Linked DNA regions of Homo sapiens: region 2 is linked to region 1. Evidence: promoter capture Hi-C in 16 types of primary human blood cells and fetal thymus (Javierre and others, 2016). All regions are on one chromosome and are shown on one strand. Each heading gives the region's core, a stretch centred on a gene start or on the middle of the fragment in contact. The rest is flanking DNA. Distances are from core to core; before and after follow the strand shown. Region 1 holds the start of GUCA2A (guanylate cyclase activator 2A). Region 2 holds the start of YBX1 (Y-box binding protein 1).

Region 1 (7,862 bases), core at 2,793-5,292:
TATGGAAGAATGAGGGATGTGGGGGTGCTGGGGACCAGGGCCTGAGGACTCAGGGTGTAGGCTGGGGTGGGAGGCAGGAAGCTTGGAGTTCTGGGAAGAGCCCAAGATCCAACTTCCAGCAGCTTCAGAGCAGGCTGCAGAGGTCCTGAGCACCCTGGAGGTTCAGAGGGGAGGGGGCCTGAACTCACGGCTGGGGCCAGACTAGGCAGAGGGGCTTGGGGAACAAGGGAAGGGGAGTTGGTTCCCATTTCCCAGGGTAGAGGTCAGAGGTGGAGTTGGGTAGGGGAGGACCCTAAGGGCCATGGCCTAGGAGTCACTTCCTCTTTCCCACAGTGTGGAGTGATGTCACTCCTGAACCCACTCCATTCCATCCCTGCCTTATAGCAGGCAAGCCTTGGCCAGGGGGGCTGTGGGAGAAAGAGGCTCAGGGATGAAAGCCCCTGCCCTTTACCCCCATTCCTGCCACAGCTTGGGAGGGGAAAGACCAAAATGAGTCAGAAAAAACAGGTCCTCAGCCTGGTGGCCCCACCTAAGCCCCATCCTTAACTGAAAGTCAAATCCCAACCCAGCTGTAGCGTCACACTTAAGCCAGACCCACCCCCATCATAAACCTAACCCAGTCACACCTCCAATCTCTGCTGCAAACTCAACTCCAATCCCAGTCCTGCCAATGAGCCCTAACCTAGCCCAAACCAGCCTCCACGTCAGTTACAAGCACCACATCAGTTCAATCTGGACTGCGCCCTCGGCTCCACACCTAACTCTAATTTACCCCTGCCCAACCTCAGCTCCATCTCAACCTGACCCTAATCCAAACCAACTTTAGTGTCGCCCGAATTGACCCCAATCCCAACCCCGCTCCGGTCTCCGCAAGCCCCGGCTCCAGTCTAGCATGGAGCTCAGCCGCACTCCCGAACTTCTCCCGGTGTTCATCCCCACCCCAGCCTCCGAAACTCCTGCCCCTCACCTTTCCCCCAGCTCCATCCCCCGACATCCTGTTGCTCAGCATCCAAGTCCCACGCCCCGACCCTCAGCCCCATTCCTTCCCCTAACCCCACTCACTCCCACGCCCACTCCCACCTGCCCTCAGCGAGGGGACCAGTGTGTGGCTGACCTTGGTGGGCACACACACATGTCCAGGCACGCACACACACCTCAGTGTATACACACACGTCAGCACACACACACGTCAGTGCACACACACACGTCAGCACTCACACACACCTCAGTGTATACACACACGTCAGCACTCACGCACACCTCAGTGTATACACACACTTCAGCACACACGCACCTCAGTGTATACACACACGTCAGCACACACACACCTCAGCACACACACAGTGTATACACACGTCAGCACACACACCTCAGTGTATACACACACGTCAGCGCACACACACCTCAGTGTATACACACACGTCAGCACTCACACACCTCAGCACATACACGCACCTCAGTGTATACACACATGTCAGCACACACACACCTCAGCACACACACGCACCTCAGTGTATACACACACATCAGCGCACACATACCTCAGCACACACACGCTCCTCAGTGTATACACACATGTCAGCACTCACACACACCTCAGTGTATACACACACATCAGCACACACACAGCTCAGCACACACACACACCTCAGCACACACACAGTGTATACACACGTCAGCACACACACCTCAGTGTATACACACACGTCAGCGCACACACACCTCAGTGTATACACACACGTCAGCACTCACACACCTCAGCACATACACGCACCTCAGTGTATACACACATGTCAGCACACACACACCTCAGCACACACACGCACCTCAGTGTATACACACACATCAGCGCACACATACCTCAGCACACACACGCTCCTCAGTGTATACACACACATCAGCACTCACACACACCTCAGTGTATACACACACATCAGCACACACACAGCTCAGCACACACACACACCTCAGCACACACACACACCTCAGTGTATACACACACGTCAGCACACACACACCTCAGCACACATACGCACCTCAGCACACATACGCACCTCAGTGTATACACACACGTCAGCACTCACACACGTCAGCACACACACACCTCAGCGCATACATGCACCTCAGTGTATACACACACCTCGGCACACACACGCACAACACAGCAGATGCACTCAGCTCAGCATACACACACACACCTCAGTGCACATACACACACATATCTCAGTGCATATACACACATGAGCATACACACACACATACCTCAGTGCACATACACACACCCCAGCAGACACCCCAGCAGACACACATCCCAGCAAACACACACACCTCGGTGTACACACACGCGCCTGTGTATATACACACTGACACACACACACCTCGATGTATATATGCACACCTCCTTGCACAGACACAGATACCTTGGTGTACACGGACACACATATACCCCTCAGCATACACACACATACACCTCAGCATATATACACATACACTCCTCAGTGTACACACATGCCTCAGCACACACACACCTTCAGCACAAGCACACATACAAACACACCTTGGCTACACACACCCATCAGGGTATATACAGACACCTTGGCATACACAGACATACACATCTCCGCAGACACACCCCCCCTTAACACACACACACACACACACACACACACACTCACCAGAAAGGGGTGGGAAATCCAGTGCAGCTGTGAGGACTGCCCTGGGAGCTGGGCCAGGAGCTACCTGCCCCTCCCTGAGGGCCTTGTCCCTGCAGTTCCCTCCTGGTCAGGCCCTGCTCTCTCCAATTCCCTCTTCAGTGTTGACTCTCCCCACCCAGGAATTCCTGCCCAACCTCCCGCCCTAGGGCTGTCCTGGCATCGGGCCAGGTTGGCTGAGTAGAAAGATGACAATCCCAGGGCTACCCTTTCTCCTGTGTCCTGGGGATTCCTGCTCACAACAGCACACAGTGAATGCACGCTGCCCTGAGGGCGCAGTCTGAATGGGGTCAGAGTCTATAGGGGCGCGGGCACACCCAAGCAATTCCCCAGTGAGATCCGCGGAAAGGGGACTGTATCTGCAGGGGCAAGGGGGGCGGGCGGATTGGGGAGGAGCTCATTCGAGGACACCCTGAGGCTGCAGGGCAGGCAGGACAGGATGGGGACCAGCACAGGATGGGGACAGCCTGTGACTCAGACAGGCAGGAGGTCACCAGAGGGGCCAGGGAGGACCAGGAGCTGCTGTGGCTGCTAATAATATGGGAATGGACCTCTGCTGAGCACCTTCTGTGTGCCAGGCATTGAGCTAAATGTTTTTAAAACCTCACTTGATTCTCCAAACAGTAATGCCTACCACACACCTACCCCATGAGGTAGGTATTATTTTTGGTTCCCACAGGGGACACAAGGGACAACGAGACTCAGAGAGGGGAAAGCATTGGCCCAAGTTCACACGCCTCACAACTGGGCAGTAGGTGGAACGGAACCCAGGCTGTGCGGAGGGCTTCCTTGAGGTCGCGGCAATCAAACCCAGACCCTGACTTGCCCTGCAGCCTCCCCCGTGGAATTTCTCACATTTCCCTGAATATTCCAGGCCCGTCTCACCTCCTGGCTGTCCCTTTGGCATGAAATGGCCTTCTGTCCTCAGTCCCTTCTCTGGGAAAACTTCCACCCATTCTCCAGAGCTCAGCCCCCAGTGCAGCCCCGTCACCTCATCCTAGGATCACCCCACCCTAATCGCCCTGCGTTTCACTGTCGGGCTGGGCCCCCCTCCTCAAGGGCAGGGTCTGCCGGCCCCACACAGCAGCACAGGGCAGTCGTGAGTGAATGTGCCTTGTTGGTGAATGAATGCAGGACCCAGCCCGGCTGTGGGTCAAAGTAGGTGCTCAGGGAGGGGCCGGGGCCCCCCCTGCCTGGCTCTTATCTCCTAGGGCTGTCTCGAGCCTTATCTGATAAGGCCTGACAGGTGAGCAGATGAGACTGACAGAGGCTTCCAGGTTACTCAGTAACCTGCCCTCTTTAAAAGTCCCGCCGCTTCCCCCTGGCATCCAGAACAGCCACCCCTCTCTCGGGCACTGCTGCCATGAATGCCTTCCTGCTCTCCGCACTGTGCCTCCTTGGGGCCTGGGCCGCCTTGGCAGGAGGGGTCACCGTGCAGGTGAGTCCTGTGTCCCTACCCCGGCCCAGCTGGCTCCCTGCCCCTAGTGCCCAGGTCTGGTCCCCTGAGAGAGTACCTCCTCTTTGGGGCTGGATTGAGGGTGTGTGTCCCAGGCTTGGCCTTCTTCGAGGAGCTCCTGCTCAGTCCAGCCACACACACACCTTTCCCTTCAACTTTGGAGGAGAAAGAAACCCAGTGGAGGGAAGAGGAATAACCATATGGGGAAGGCGGGGAGTTGGCCAATTTACTGAGTGTCCTATGTGCCGGCTCCTTCCCCAGCCCCTCACTGTGGCTCCACTATCAACCTGGAAGAAAGGGATCATTAGTCCCATTTTACAGAGGGGAAAACTGAGCCTCACAAAGGTTCTGTAACAGGCCATGGGCACATGGCTGTGGGAAGTGCAGGAGCTGGATTTAAATCCAGACCTTACTCCTCAGTGGGTCCCAGGAACCACATGGACACCCTGGAGGTCCTGACAGATGGGTATGCCTACCAGTGCCAATGCTGGCGACAGGCCAAGCTGGCACCTAGCGGGGGCCCTGATCTCTATCAAAGCCAGATTCCGGGAGGCCTTTTATTGCTTCTCAAACCAAAACCAGGCTGCAGGCTGGAGCTGGGGGCCCAGTAATCAGCCGCACCGCTCTCAGGCAGGGGAAAGACAGCCTGGGCTTGGCCACGTGGAACTACGATGCCTGGGTGCTGGTCCTTTGCCTCTCCCTAAAAATCAGCACACTGGCTCCTACTCATTAGGCACCTATGGTGTTCCTGGAGCTTCACACCCATTTTCTCCATTCCCCATACAACATGCAGAATTTGCGGGTTCCAGAGTGTCCAGCATCACGGAGCCAAGCCAGGACGTGGGGCCTGAACTCTGCCCCTCACAGTGCCCCACTGTGGATCGCCTGGCTCCCATATGCCACGAACACTGCCTGTGAGCACCACTGGGCTGGACCGGGGCCAGCACGGGGGGCACAGCCAGGAAGCAGGCTGCAGCCTGGCCTCATGCTCTGGGCTTCTCTCTTCCAGGATGGAAATTTCTCCTTTTCTCTGGAGTCAGTGAAGAAGCTCAAAGACCTCCAGGAGCCCCAGGAGCCCAGGGTTGGGAAACTCAGGAACTTTGCACCCATCCCTGGTGAACCTGTGGTTCCCATCCTCTGTAGCAACCCGAACTTTCCAGAAGAACTCAAGCCTCTCTGCAAGGAGCCCAATGCCCAGGAGATACTTCAGAGGCTGGGTGAGCAGCCTCCTTCCTCTCTGATTGGTGGGGTTCGGGAATACTGTGGTGGCACTTGAGGAAGAGATGTGCTCTGATTGGTGGGATTTGGAGGAAGGGCTCAGCTCTGACTGGTGGAACTAGGGAGCTTGGCTCTGATTGGTGGGTCTGTTCCATGCCCACTTCAATTCCAAGTTGTAACTGCTGAGGTTTGGGAACTAAGACCATTCATCTGGTCTTAGTTTCCTCTCTTTCTGGTGGAATCTCTGCTTTGATTGGTTGGTTTGAGTGGTCTGTGTGCCCTGGTTTGGGGCGAAAAGCCCAGTAGGTCAGAGTACGGGCCTGCTGAGATTCTCCTGGGGCTGGGTGGTGACGTACAAGCTCTGGGCCAAGGGCGGCAGGGGCCTCGCGAGGAAATGCTGGTTCTCACGAGGCTCCATCTCTGTTGTGCAGAGGAAATCGCTGAGGACCCGGGCACATGTGAAATCTGTGCCTACGCTGCCTGTACCGGATGCTAGGGGGGCTTGCCCACTGCCTGCCTCCCCTCCGCAGCAGGGAAGCTCTTTTCTCCTGCAGAAAGGGCCACCCATGATACTCCACTCCCAGCAGCTCAACCTACCCTGGTCCAGTCGGGAGGAGCAGCCCGGGGAGGAACTGGGTGACTGGAGGCCTCGCCCCAACACTGTCCTTCCCTGCCACTTCAACCCCCAGCTAATAAACCAGATTCCAGAGTACTCTGGGTGTTGCCTTCCTTCCTTCCTTCATCCCCTAGTCTATCCTGCCCTGGAAGCTCGGGATGTAATGTACTAAGCGAAGGACCCCACTCTCCCTGCTAAGCTGCTCACTGTCCCTGGGGCTGCCACAACACAGAGGCGTGGAGAGGATCTGGATCTCCAAACCACCAAGGCAGCGGGTGGTGGGGAGGGTTTGCTTTTATTTCACATCTCCTGAGGTCACCAAGTTCACTGAGCCACATGTGAGCACGGGAGCCAGTCTGAGCTGGTTTGGACAACCAATACAGGCACTTGGCCCACTAGAAGACTGGCACCAAACTCTTGGGTATTCAAGGACTTGGCTCCCACCAGCCATGCTAGTGTGGCCTCCAGCCCTGACCACATCCCAAACCACACCTCTTGCCATTTCCTCTGCTGCTGCTCACCTCTCCACTGCCCGTCTTCCCACACTACTGTCCAGGCAAACTCCTACTCAGGGTCCAAGGCTTTCATTCCACGGCCTCTCCTCAAGACAACTTGCTCAACCCCCCAGGAAGAGTCTCAGTGCTCCCATTGTGACCTTGACCTTGGTGCTTTCTGGGCACTGTGATCACCCACAACCCTTGCACAGCTGTGGCCACCCTGTTGTGTAATGGCTTCTGTGCCTGGGGAAGTCTCTCTGACCTCCAGACCCACATGGATAATTGCATGAGGATATAAAACAGGGCAGGGGCCCAGCCACAGCTTTTCCAAGTACTGTGTGATCTTTGGAAAGTCACCTTCCCTCTCTGTGCCTCCACCTCTTCCTCTATAAAACTGGGACACTAATATTTCCTGCCTCCCAGGCTGGGTGAAATAATGCATATAAAGCCCTCAGTTCAGGCCTGACACAAACGTAAGAGGAATTCAATAAGTGGTAAAACAAACTAGAGAAAAGGGGACCAGGATCAGGCTGAAAGTGGTTCAGACAGGGTGAGGAGGCAGGGTGTGGAAGTGAGGCCTATTAGCAAAGGTAGAGGGAACAAAAAAAAGAGGAGGCAGAACTCCCAAGGGTCCATCTTGAGGAGTGGGGTGGAGGGGAAGTGTCTCAAGGGGGATTCCATGGGCTTCAGAATTCAAAACATAAGGTCTCTTCTAGTTGAGATCAGTAAGGCTTTGTGAAAGGGGAAGGGCAAGTGCATTTGCATCACCCCTCGAGATTTGCACTGGGATGCAGGGAATTTCAAAACCAGTGTGGAAGTAGGGAGAAAGAGAGTGTTGCAGAAGGTGGGAATGGTGCAGACAGACACAAAGACATAGGAATGGTTCAGTCAGGACAGAGTGGAGCTTGGGAAGGCAGACAGGACTGAGTTTGAGCCTTACTGTGTCATTTACAAGCTGAGTGTCCCTCTCTGAGGCTTGGTTTCTCATCTGAAAGTGAGGATGATAACAGACCCTACCTCCCAAGGTTGGCGGGGGATTAAGTGAGATGTATGGTAGAGTAGAATCATTTAATGCCCTAACTCTGGAGCCAGACTCTTTGGGTATAAATCCTGGCTCTGTCTTTTACAGCTATGTGCCTTTAGGCAGGCTACCTAGCCTGTTCTCTCCTCAGTTTTCTCATCTGTAAAATGGGGAAGATAAGAATCCATATATCATAGGGTTGAGTGAAGAGTAAATGAAAAAATGCTGGAAAAATTTTTAAAACTCCCCTGGTTTTGAACAACCACTGGGTCAAATAAGAAATCAAAAGGGAAATTGAAAAGTATCTTGAGACAAGTGAAAACGAAAATACAGCATACAAAAG
Region 2 (7,862 bases), core at 3,211-5,710, 520 kb before region 1:
AAAACAGTTCCAATCCTGCCACTTATCACCTATGCTTATGGGGACAAGTAACAACTCCTTTGTGCCTCAGAATGACAGTACCTACGCCTCAAAGGTTTTTAAAGATTAAGTAAATTGGCTCATTTTAAGCACTTACTATAGACCCTAGTATAAATACTTGTTAGCTGTATCTATTTTCACCAACATGTGTTGGAAGTCACCTATCAGTTATGTACATATGGAATCCCCACAAGGGAGCCCCCACCCCAAAGGGAGACTAAACCTGATAGGCGTGACTAAAGAGAGATAGCCAAACCTTTCCCTGGCTTGGTTTATTACATCTTCCTAGACCATGGGTAATAAACTCAAATGCATACACAGAGGCCAGGCGTGAAGGCTGTCGTAAAAAAAGTATACCCCACCTAAATGTGGTGACAATATGGCCAGGTGGTTTTTACTTATGTGGAAATACAGGCCCCCAAAGCCAGCTAAAGTTCAGATCTTAAAAATATAATAATCTGGATTACTTGGTGTTATCTCCTGAATTATAAATGTTAGTAATTAATCCCAATTCCTTTAAAAAATACTGTACTGTCTAATCAAAGCATCTGGGAGTAGTTTTAGCCAGAAGGTCACAAATTTGTGACCTCTGCTCCAAATTCTTTCACCTCAAAACATTAAGAATTATTAATTTAAACATTTTAAGTACTCTGGAAACAGAAAAATATTCCTATTCTGGTCACTATAAACTGTTGCCAATTCATGGTAATCTTTGGTGAATATGGATCAATACTCAACCACTAACAAAATTCAACAGTAATCTGGGGGGAGCTAATAAACCCCTCTAGTCACATTCTCCGATTATGTTTTGTAGACACAGTTCACAAAAGAATAACTCAATGAATTTCTTAGAATTTCTAGATTACACAGTCTAACAAAATAAAGCCAAAACTTCTGCTATTTTTAAAAGCTCTATGCTCATGTTACTTAGCACCTTCTTCACAATATAACCATCAGGGAGAAGCCCTTTCATGAATTAATTCTAACAAGGTTGTAACAATTCATCAGGTGGTAATTCAGGCTGGAATAAACACATTTACAATGAAATTATGTCTTTAAAGGCAGAAAATTTACATACAATATTGTAATTATAAAAATTCCTTACAATCCTAGCATATATAATCCAGCGCATCCAAAAACCCCAATTAAAAGTCGTCACAATAGTCATCCCGAACACTGCACCCTCTCCTTTATACAGAAAACAGCACGTTATGTGTCAGTCTGTCTCCCTCCCTCATAAGAGACAGGTGCCTCCAGCCAAGTCTATTTGTTCCACTACACGAACTACATATAGAACCAACTGCTAGCTTCCAAAGTGATTTCTTTTATCACATACATTTTCCTTAATTAAAGCAAATCTTCCCTGTATTTAATTGGAGTCAGATTTTACAGCATCTTATTAAAAAAGTCCCAGAATCATTAAAACCAGTTCAGAAGCATAAAGAACATTTTAACCAGTTAATTTGACAAAATAATTGAGGTTAGGATAGTCCAAACAAAGGACCATCAAAAGCCAATTCATAACTTGCCCTGGAGGATGACCAATTGAGTTGATTCCAATTCAGAATAGAGATATTCAATGAACAGTATCTCATGGACTAAATACTTAAAAAATGTAAAGATATTACTCTTATTCTGGACAAAACTGTTGATTTCAAAAAATGTCATAACCTATGCCTACTTAAAAAAAATGCAGCGAAACAAGGCACATGCTAAAACTTCTTCAACACATACAAAACCTGCAATCTATCCGCTGAAAAGGCTGCAAATTTGCACACCAGAGTTACCATTACATTGGGTCAAGGGTTAAAAGCAGTGATTTTGAAGGTATGGCCCGAAGACCATTATCATTCCTGTTAAAAATGTACCCAGACCTAATGAATCCAAGGCTCAGAAGGAGGAACTCACCACTTACATCACACCCTCCCAAGGTAAGCACACTTAAATTTGAAAACCACTGGTTTAAGGGTTAGACTAGTAACGATAATCAGAGTAAGACAGAAATACAAACTAAAACACTAGAAAGTTCAGAGAGATCAGTTAAAAAGCTATCAGTATGCCAATTATATATAAGCATTCCCTTCCTTCTTGCTAGTAAGCCATTATCAAAAAATTAATGAAAAACGTAGTTTCGGCCAGCCAGGAAAGCAAACAGTATATAACAAGATGGAAAATCCTAAGATTTTGGAAGAAACAAAATATTTTCCCACAATTGCAAAAGTAGAGAATAGATCACCAAATGCTTATCTCTTACTCTGAGTGTTTCCACAATACTCTATGATTGATTAATGAACAGTTTTTCATCAGGCAATGATTCTGTCCTTAAGCTTGATTTTGCCCATTTGTTGTCCATTCCACATTGTTCTTTTAATCATCTGCTTAGGTCTTCTACAGTAAGCAAGCAAGACAATGCTGAGATGGCACTAAGTACCATACCTGTGAGGCCAAGATTGCTACTGGCATACCCAGTGCTCTGCACCCATGTAACTAGCACTACTAGCCTTGGCAGCCATCTTGAAAATGATGCCCGGCTTACAAGGGAGCCCATGGAATACAGTGCGTCTACTGCACGTTACCACCACCACTCCTACAAACAACCCGAAGGGTAAGTCCTAAAGACGTGTCTGCAGCTTTGCCTTCAAACAGGAAGAAAAATGTCAAGTTACCAGTGACTATGGCCACTCTAATAAGCTACAGCCAGGGATCTAACAGAAATCGACTTAACCAGTTATGATTCTAGGACAAGGAAGAATGAAAAATAAGAACGGAAGAAGGAAAAAAAACCACTTTCTTGTAAATATATTATTTACTGGATGAGCAAATAAAAACAGTTCTCTCTGGTCAAAGCTGTGCTAAGACAAAATTTATCTCAGGTATTAAAATGAAACGTGAAACAAAGGCAATACAACCTCTCGGTAAAGATGACAAAACCTCATATAGTCAAATCCTCTTACCCTAAAACGTTAACAATGTATAAATATCCGATGTCAGTGGATCACATTCTCAAATACCGAGTTCAATAAAGTAGAAAAAGATGACAAGGATAAAAATGTACTGGACCGTAGTTTCCCGTTTACCCTGTTAAGGAATGGCTCATTCACTCCGCTTGCCTTTTGAATTGCTTTGTACTGTGACGAAGCCTTTTAAGTTAGCTTCAAATTAATATTTAGCTGCAAAACAAAGGCATTCTCTAGATCCACTAATCCCTAATCAAGGAAAACAACAACAACAAAAAATCATACTAATACACCAGAGGTAGTAAACGCCTTTCAGAACAGAGCTGTGGATTGGGGCTTCCCAAGCCCCGAGAAGCCGACAGAGCAGGAAGCAAGCAAGAAGGTGGGATGGAGGCTTCAGAGCCCGGCAGCTCACCTGTTGATGAAACCATATCCGTTCCTTACATTGAACCATTTTACTGTTCCCAAAACCTTCGTTGCTGGAAAAGAAAACAAAGCAAAACAAGCCACGATTACCAGCTATCCTTTTCCAAATCCGCCCGGCTTGGGCATCCGGTCCCTCGCACGCCGGCCGCCGCGGCCACCTGACAGCCCTTTCTCTCCACCGCCCGGGTGCGGGGCCACGCAGTCGCCGCCGCCGCCGCACACGTGGGTGAGTCTGAAGCGCGGGGCGCTCCAGGGCAGGCCCGGGGCGCGGGCCCCAGGATGGGTGTGTGCGCAGGCCGCGGACGGAGAGCACGTGAGGGAAGGGGAAGCCGCTCCGGCCTGCGTAGGCGGTGCGCCGCGCCCTCCGAGCACACGCGGAAGGGAGCTGGGTGGGGGTGACGCGAACAACGGCGTGCGGGCCCGAGCGCACGAGGCCGGTCGGCGGGGAGGGGACCCCGTCGCACACGCGGTCGGCGGCGCGCGGCCGCAGGGGGAGGGGCGCGCGGCCGCGCGGGGTCCACAGGGGGCGCGGGAGGCAGTGCGCGCGCGCCTGCCGGGCGGGTCCCCGCGAGAGGGAGTGAGGGGGGGACGGGGGGGATGGGCGGCCGCGCGCCGCGGAGTCGGTGCCCACCGGCCGCGCGCCCGCCGGCTCGCCCAGCTCCGGCTAACGGTTCCGCTGCTGGGCTGCCCGAGGGCCCCACCCCCGTCCCTGTCCGGTCCTCACCGATGACCTTCTTGTCCCCGCCGGCAGGCGCCGCCGATGTGAGGCCGCCCGGGCCACCGCTCCCTGCGCCGCTGCCCGTAGTGCCGGGCTTGGTGTCGGCGGCGCTGAGGGCGGGGGCGGCGGGGGGGGCGGCGGGCGGCTGCTGGGTCTCGGCCTCGCTGCTCATGGTTGCGGTGATGGTGACTGGGGCCGGCTGCGGCAGCTGCGGCTCCTCCCGGGGTGTGATGGTAACTAGGCCGGCGGCGGCGGTGGGGCTGCTCAGGGCTCTCTGGGGTCCGCTCTCCGCTCCCGCTACCGATCGAACTAGCGAGAATGGCGGGACAGGCGGGATAAGCCCTACGAGCGACCCGCCCTAGGCGTTGTTCACTGGCCAGTGGTACTGTCAATCTGCCCACCTGACCCCAATCCCTAGCTTCTATTGGCTAATATTTTATCAGTCCTCCATTCTCATTGGACCTTTGGCGGCTAATTCAGTCGACCTACAACCGTTCCTGCCTCCGCCGGCCGCCATAGAGACCGGAACTAGAATTAGAGTAGTCGGCCACGAAAACCATAGAGTACCCGAGAGGACGGGCAGAAGGAACGTGACTTCCACGAGGCAGCCGCCGGGCTGGCGGGCCCCACGTTCAGGGTTGTGTCTCGGCTGAAAAAAAGGCACGCCCGAACGCTGGGCAGGGATTACCCGGCCGGACCCGGGATTGGAAGGGGGCTCGAAGACGCCTTAGCCCCCCGTGAAGAAAAGGCTTCCCTCCCTCCCAGCTCCAAATACGGTCCCTGTGATCTGAGAACATTACGGCGGGCATAGAGTCGTCTTTTCTTTAATGGCCGTGTAGTCGCGGCACAGCCGAGGGTTTCTGGAATTGCCTTAAACGTATGCGTTTGAAGAGCGTACCCTTTTGTCGGAGCAGTCACCTTGGAGGGACCACGCAGGCTATGGCAGCCCGGGTTCAGCATGTTTAGGGCGAGGGTGTGCTCCATGGGGACCTGCCTTCTGATCCGTTTTACCAGGCATATATTTAAAAAAATGTGTCTTCCTTTCCAAGTATTCACATCTTTTTCTACTGACCACAAATCAGATTTAATTCAACTCACATTTATTGAACAAGCTAGCCTGTTTTGTTTTTTCACTTTATTCCTGCAACAGCCACGTGATAGAGGGATTACTATCCACGTTTCACAAACGATAAAATTGAGGCTGCCACCTGATGTTACTGAAGTCCTCCACCCACCTTCTTTCGTTCTTTTTTAAGCGTCTACTATCGGCTGGGGATGGAATAGTTCGCGAGTCAGTTTCTGCCTTCTGATGGAGGCAGAAATTTAAACAGCCAACACGGTAAATACTCCAGAGCTGCAAAACCACGAAGTATTTTGGGAGTGGAAGCAGGGAGAAGGTGGAGGGCTGACTTTCCGCGCACAGGGTACAGGCGAGAAGAGGTGAGATCTCGGGAAATGCAGTCAAGTAGTTCAGTAAGACTCGAATGTGACATTGGGTTGCAGAGGTGGGCAGTCACTTAGGTATATTTAATTGGAAATATATCCTGAGGGGAAGAGTGAGAAGAGCAATTTTAGAGTCATAAGTAGGGAGGGGCATCTTTTTAAAAATGGCTGCGGAGTGGAGAATGGGTTGCAGAGGGGCAAGGAATGGAAGTAGAGAAAGCAGTTAGGAGGCTAATGCAGTATTCCTTACCCCTACCAATGCCGTCTAGGCCTGTGAGTTCCACCTCCTAAAGGCGTTCTTGAGTCAGTCCTAAACCCTCTAAATGTCAATTCAGAGTCTTTTCATTCCTACTGTCACTACTGTAGGCCATCATCACCAATTGCTTAGAGCAAGGGGTAGGAACCTTTTTCTGTGAGAGCCAAATAGTTAATAATATAAGCTTGGCCGACCATATGGTTCTGACTTACTACTCAGGTTTGGAGCTTGAAAACAGCCTTAATTTTTACATGACACGAATCTTTACATATTTTCAACTATTTAAACATTTTAAAAACCATTTGTATTCTTAGCTCATGAGCCACAGAAAAACGGAGTGTAGTCGGCTGACCCCTAGCATAGAGCAGTGCTGTTGGCTACTAACCACACCTCTCTACCTCTTTCTTACTCTAATATTACCCACCACAACAGCCAGAAAGTTCTTTTGAGAACATCTATCTGATCATGACACTGTCTTACTTAAAATCTTCCAGTGACTACTATTACCCTTAGGGTAGTCCAGATTCCATAATGTGGTTTACTGGACTCTATGACTTCTAAGAGAAGTCTTAGAGTCTTCTCTTGTATTCCCTGTCCAACCTTCCAGGTGCTTGTAACTACTGGCTGCAGGATACTGCAGGAGCAGAGGTAGCAAACAGCTGAATTCTATGAAAATAGAAATTGGTTAAAAGTGTTGCTTCAGTGTATCAGATGACAAGGGAGATGGTGAAATATTACAAGGGCCCTACAGAATAGACACTTGCAACTCTCCAGCCAAGTAAACATGCTTCAGAGGACATCGTAGAGAAAGGACTGTCATCTAGTGGAGTCCTTTAGCCACTGTTACGTTTGGAGTATTACATAAAATTCTACATACAACACTCTTCCTTTCCTCCTTCCTCTTTGCCTGCTTAATTCTTCATCCTCTAGGTCTTGGCTCAGATGCTACTAGGTTAAGAATCCCTCCCATCTTAACACACTGTATTGCTCTAATTAAATGTTCCCCACCAGACTGTGACTTCCTTGGGCATCTTAGTGCCTGACACATAATACCTTAAAAGATTCGTTAAATGAGCGACATGGTGTAGAACATGAATTGAAAAAGGTACTGGCAGCAGAAGGGTCATCTGGGCAGCTGTGCCAGTAATCCAGGTGAAAAAGGCTTTCAGCAGCAATGTGTATGGAGAGTGGGTGGATTCCACAGCTGTTGTTCATGTGTTCCAGCTCCAGATGACTTGAATGTTAAAATGTTTCCCCAAAAGGCAGTCCTGCCAACACTGAGGACATTTAAAAGCATGCCCTATAGGCTTGAGAGCTTTTCTCCAGTTACAAAGACACTTAGAAAATATTGCAGCAGCACCTCTACGAATAAGTGAACAGCCTCACTATGTAACTGCTTTGAAGGGATGGCTTCTCAAGCAAAAATACAAATTGTGTAACATCTGTCTTTTCAATGTTACTTTAAAAAGTATCATTACTTACTCATCCAGTTACTTCATTCAGCTCTCTTCGTGCTCAGTGAGCCTGAGGATAAGCTGTTTAAGAAACTAGTTTGCAGCCAGGCACGGTGGCTCATGCCTCAGCACTTTGGGAGGCCGAGGCAGGCGGATCACTTGAAGTCAGGAGTTCGAGACCAGCCCGGCCAACGTGGCAAAACCCCATCTCTACTAAAAATACAAAAATGATCTGGGCATGGTGGCATGTGCCTGTAATCCCAGCTACTCGGGAGTTTGAGGAGGGAGAATCGCTTGAACCCGGGAGGCGGAGGTTACAGTGAGCTGAGATTGTGCCACTGCACTCCAGCCTGGGTGACAGACTGAAACTATGTCTCAAAAAATAATTTTCTTGTAGCCACCTCTCTACAAGCACCAATAGTTCATGACTGTTCCAAAGTGGGAGAGCACCACTGCAGAGCTTTACTAGTCTCCCTGCCATCCTGGGAGCTCACACCATCCAGCTGTCCGTGGTGAGCACAGTACAGACAACTCCAGTGCCTGCCTTTAAGTGATGTGATGGGCAAGGG

Evidence for each region. The method cuts DNA at HindIII sites, captures the fragments that hold promoters and counts their contacts. A CHiCAGO score of 5 or more calls a contact.
Region 2: the fragment with the promoter of YBX1 here is called in contact with the fragment with the promoter of GUCA2A in region 1 in 3 of 17 cell types (endothelial precursors, M2 macrophages and erythroblasts); the score reaches 6.1 in endothelial precursors.

Annotation. Positions count from the first base shown.
Region 1 is chr1:42,160,925-42,168,786 of GRCh38, reverse strand. It overlaps GUCA2A (guanylate cyclase activator 2A), which reads left to right and starts at 4,042. Exons shown (of 3, transcript NM_033553.3): 1 at 4,042-4,149; 2 at 5,177-5,384; 3 at 5,817-6,097. The coding sequence starts at 4,075. The coding sequence ends at 5,881. RefSeq lists an enhancer at 3,218-4,182. The HindIII fragment of the contact is 7,781 bases long and covers 84-7,862 here.
Region 2 is chr1:42,679,016-42,686,877 of GRCh38, reverse strand. YBX1 (Y-box binding protein 1) reads right to left here and starts at 4,460. Exons shown (of 8, transcript NM_004559.5): 1 at 4,147-4,460; 2 at 3,412-3,475. The coding sequence starts at 4,312. It also overlaps a transcript of PPIH not described here. RefSeq lists silencers at 3,555-3,704, 3,815-3,924, 4,115-4,314 and an enhancer at 4,755-4,804. The HindIII fragment of the contact is 3,657 bases long and covers 2,369-6,025 here.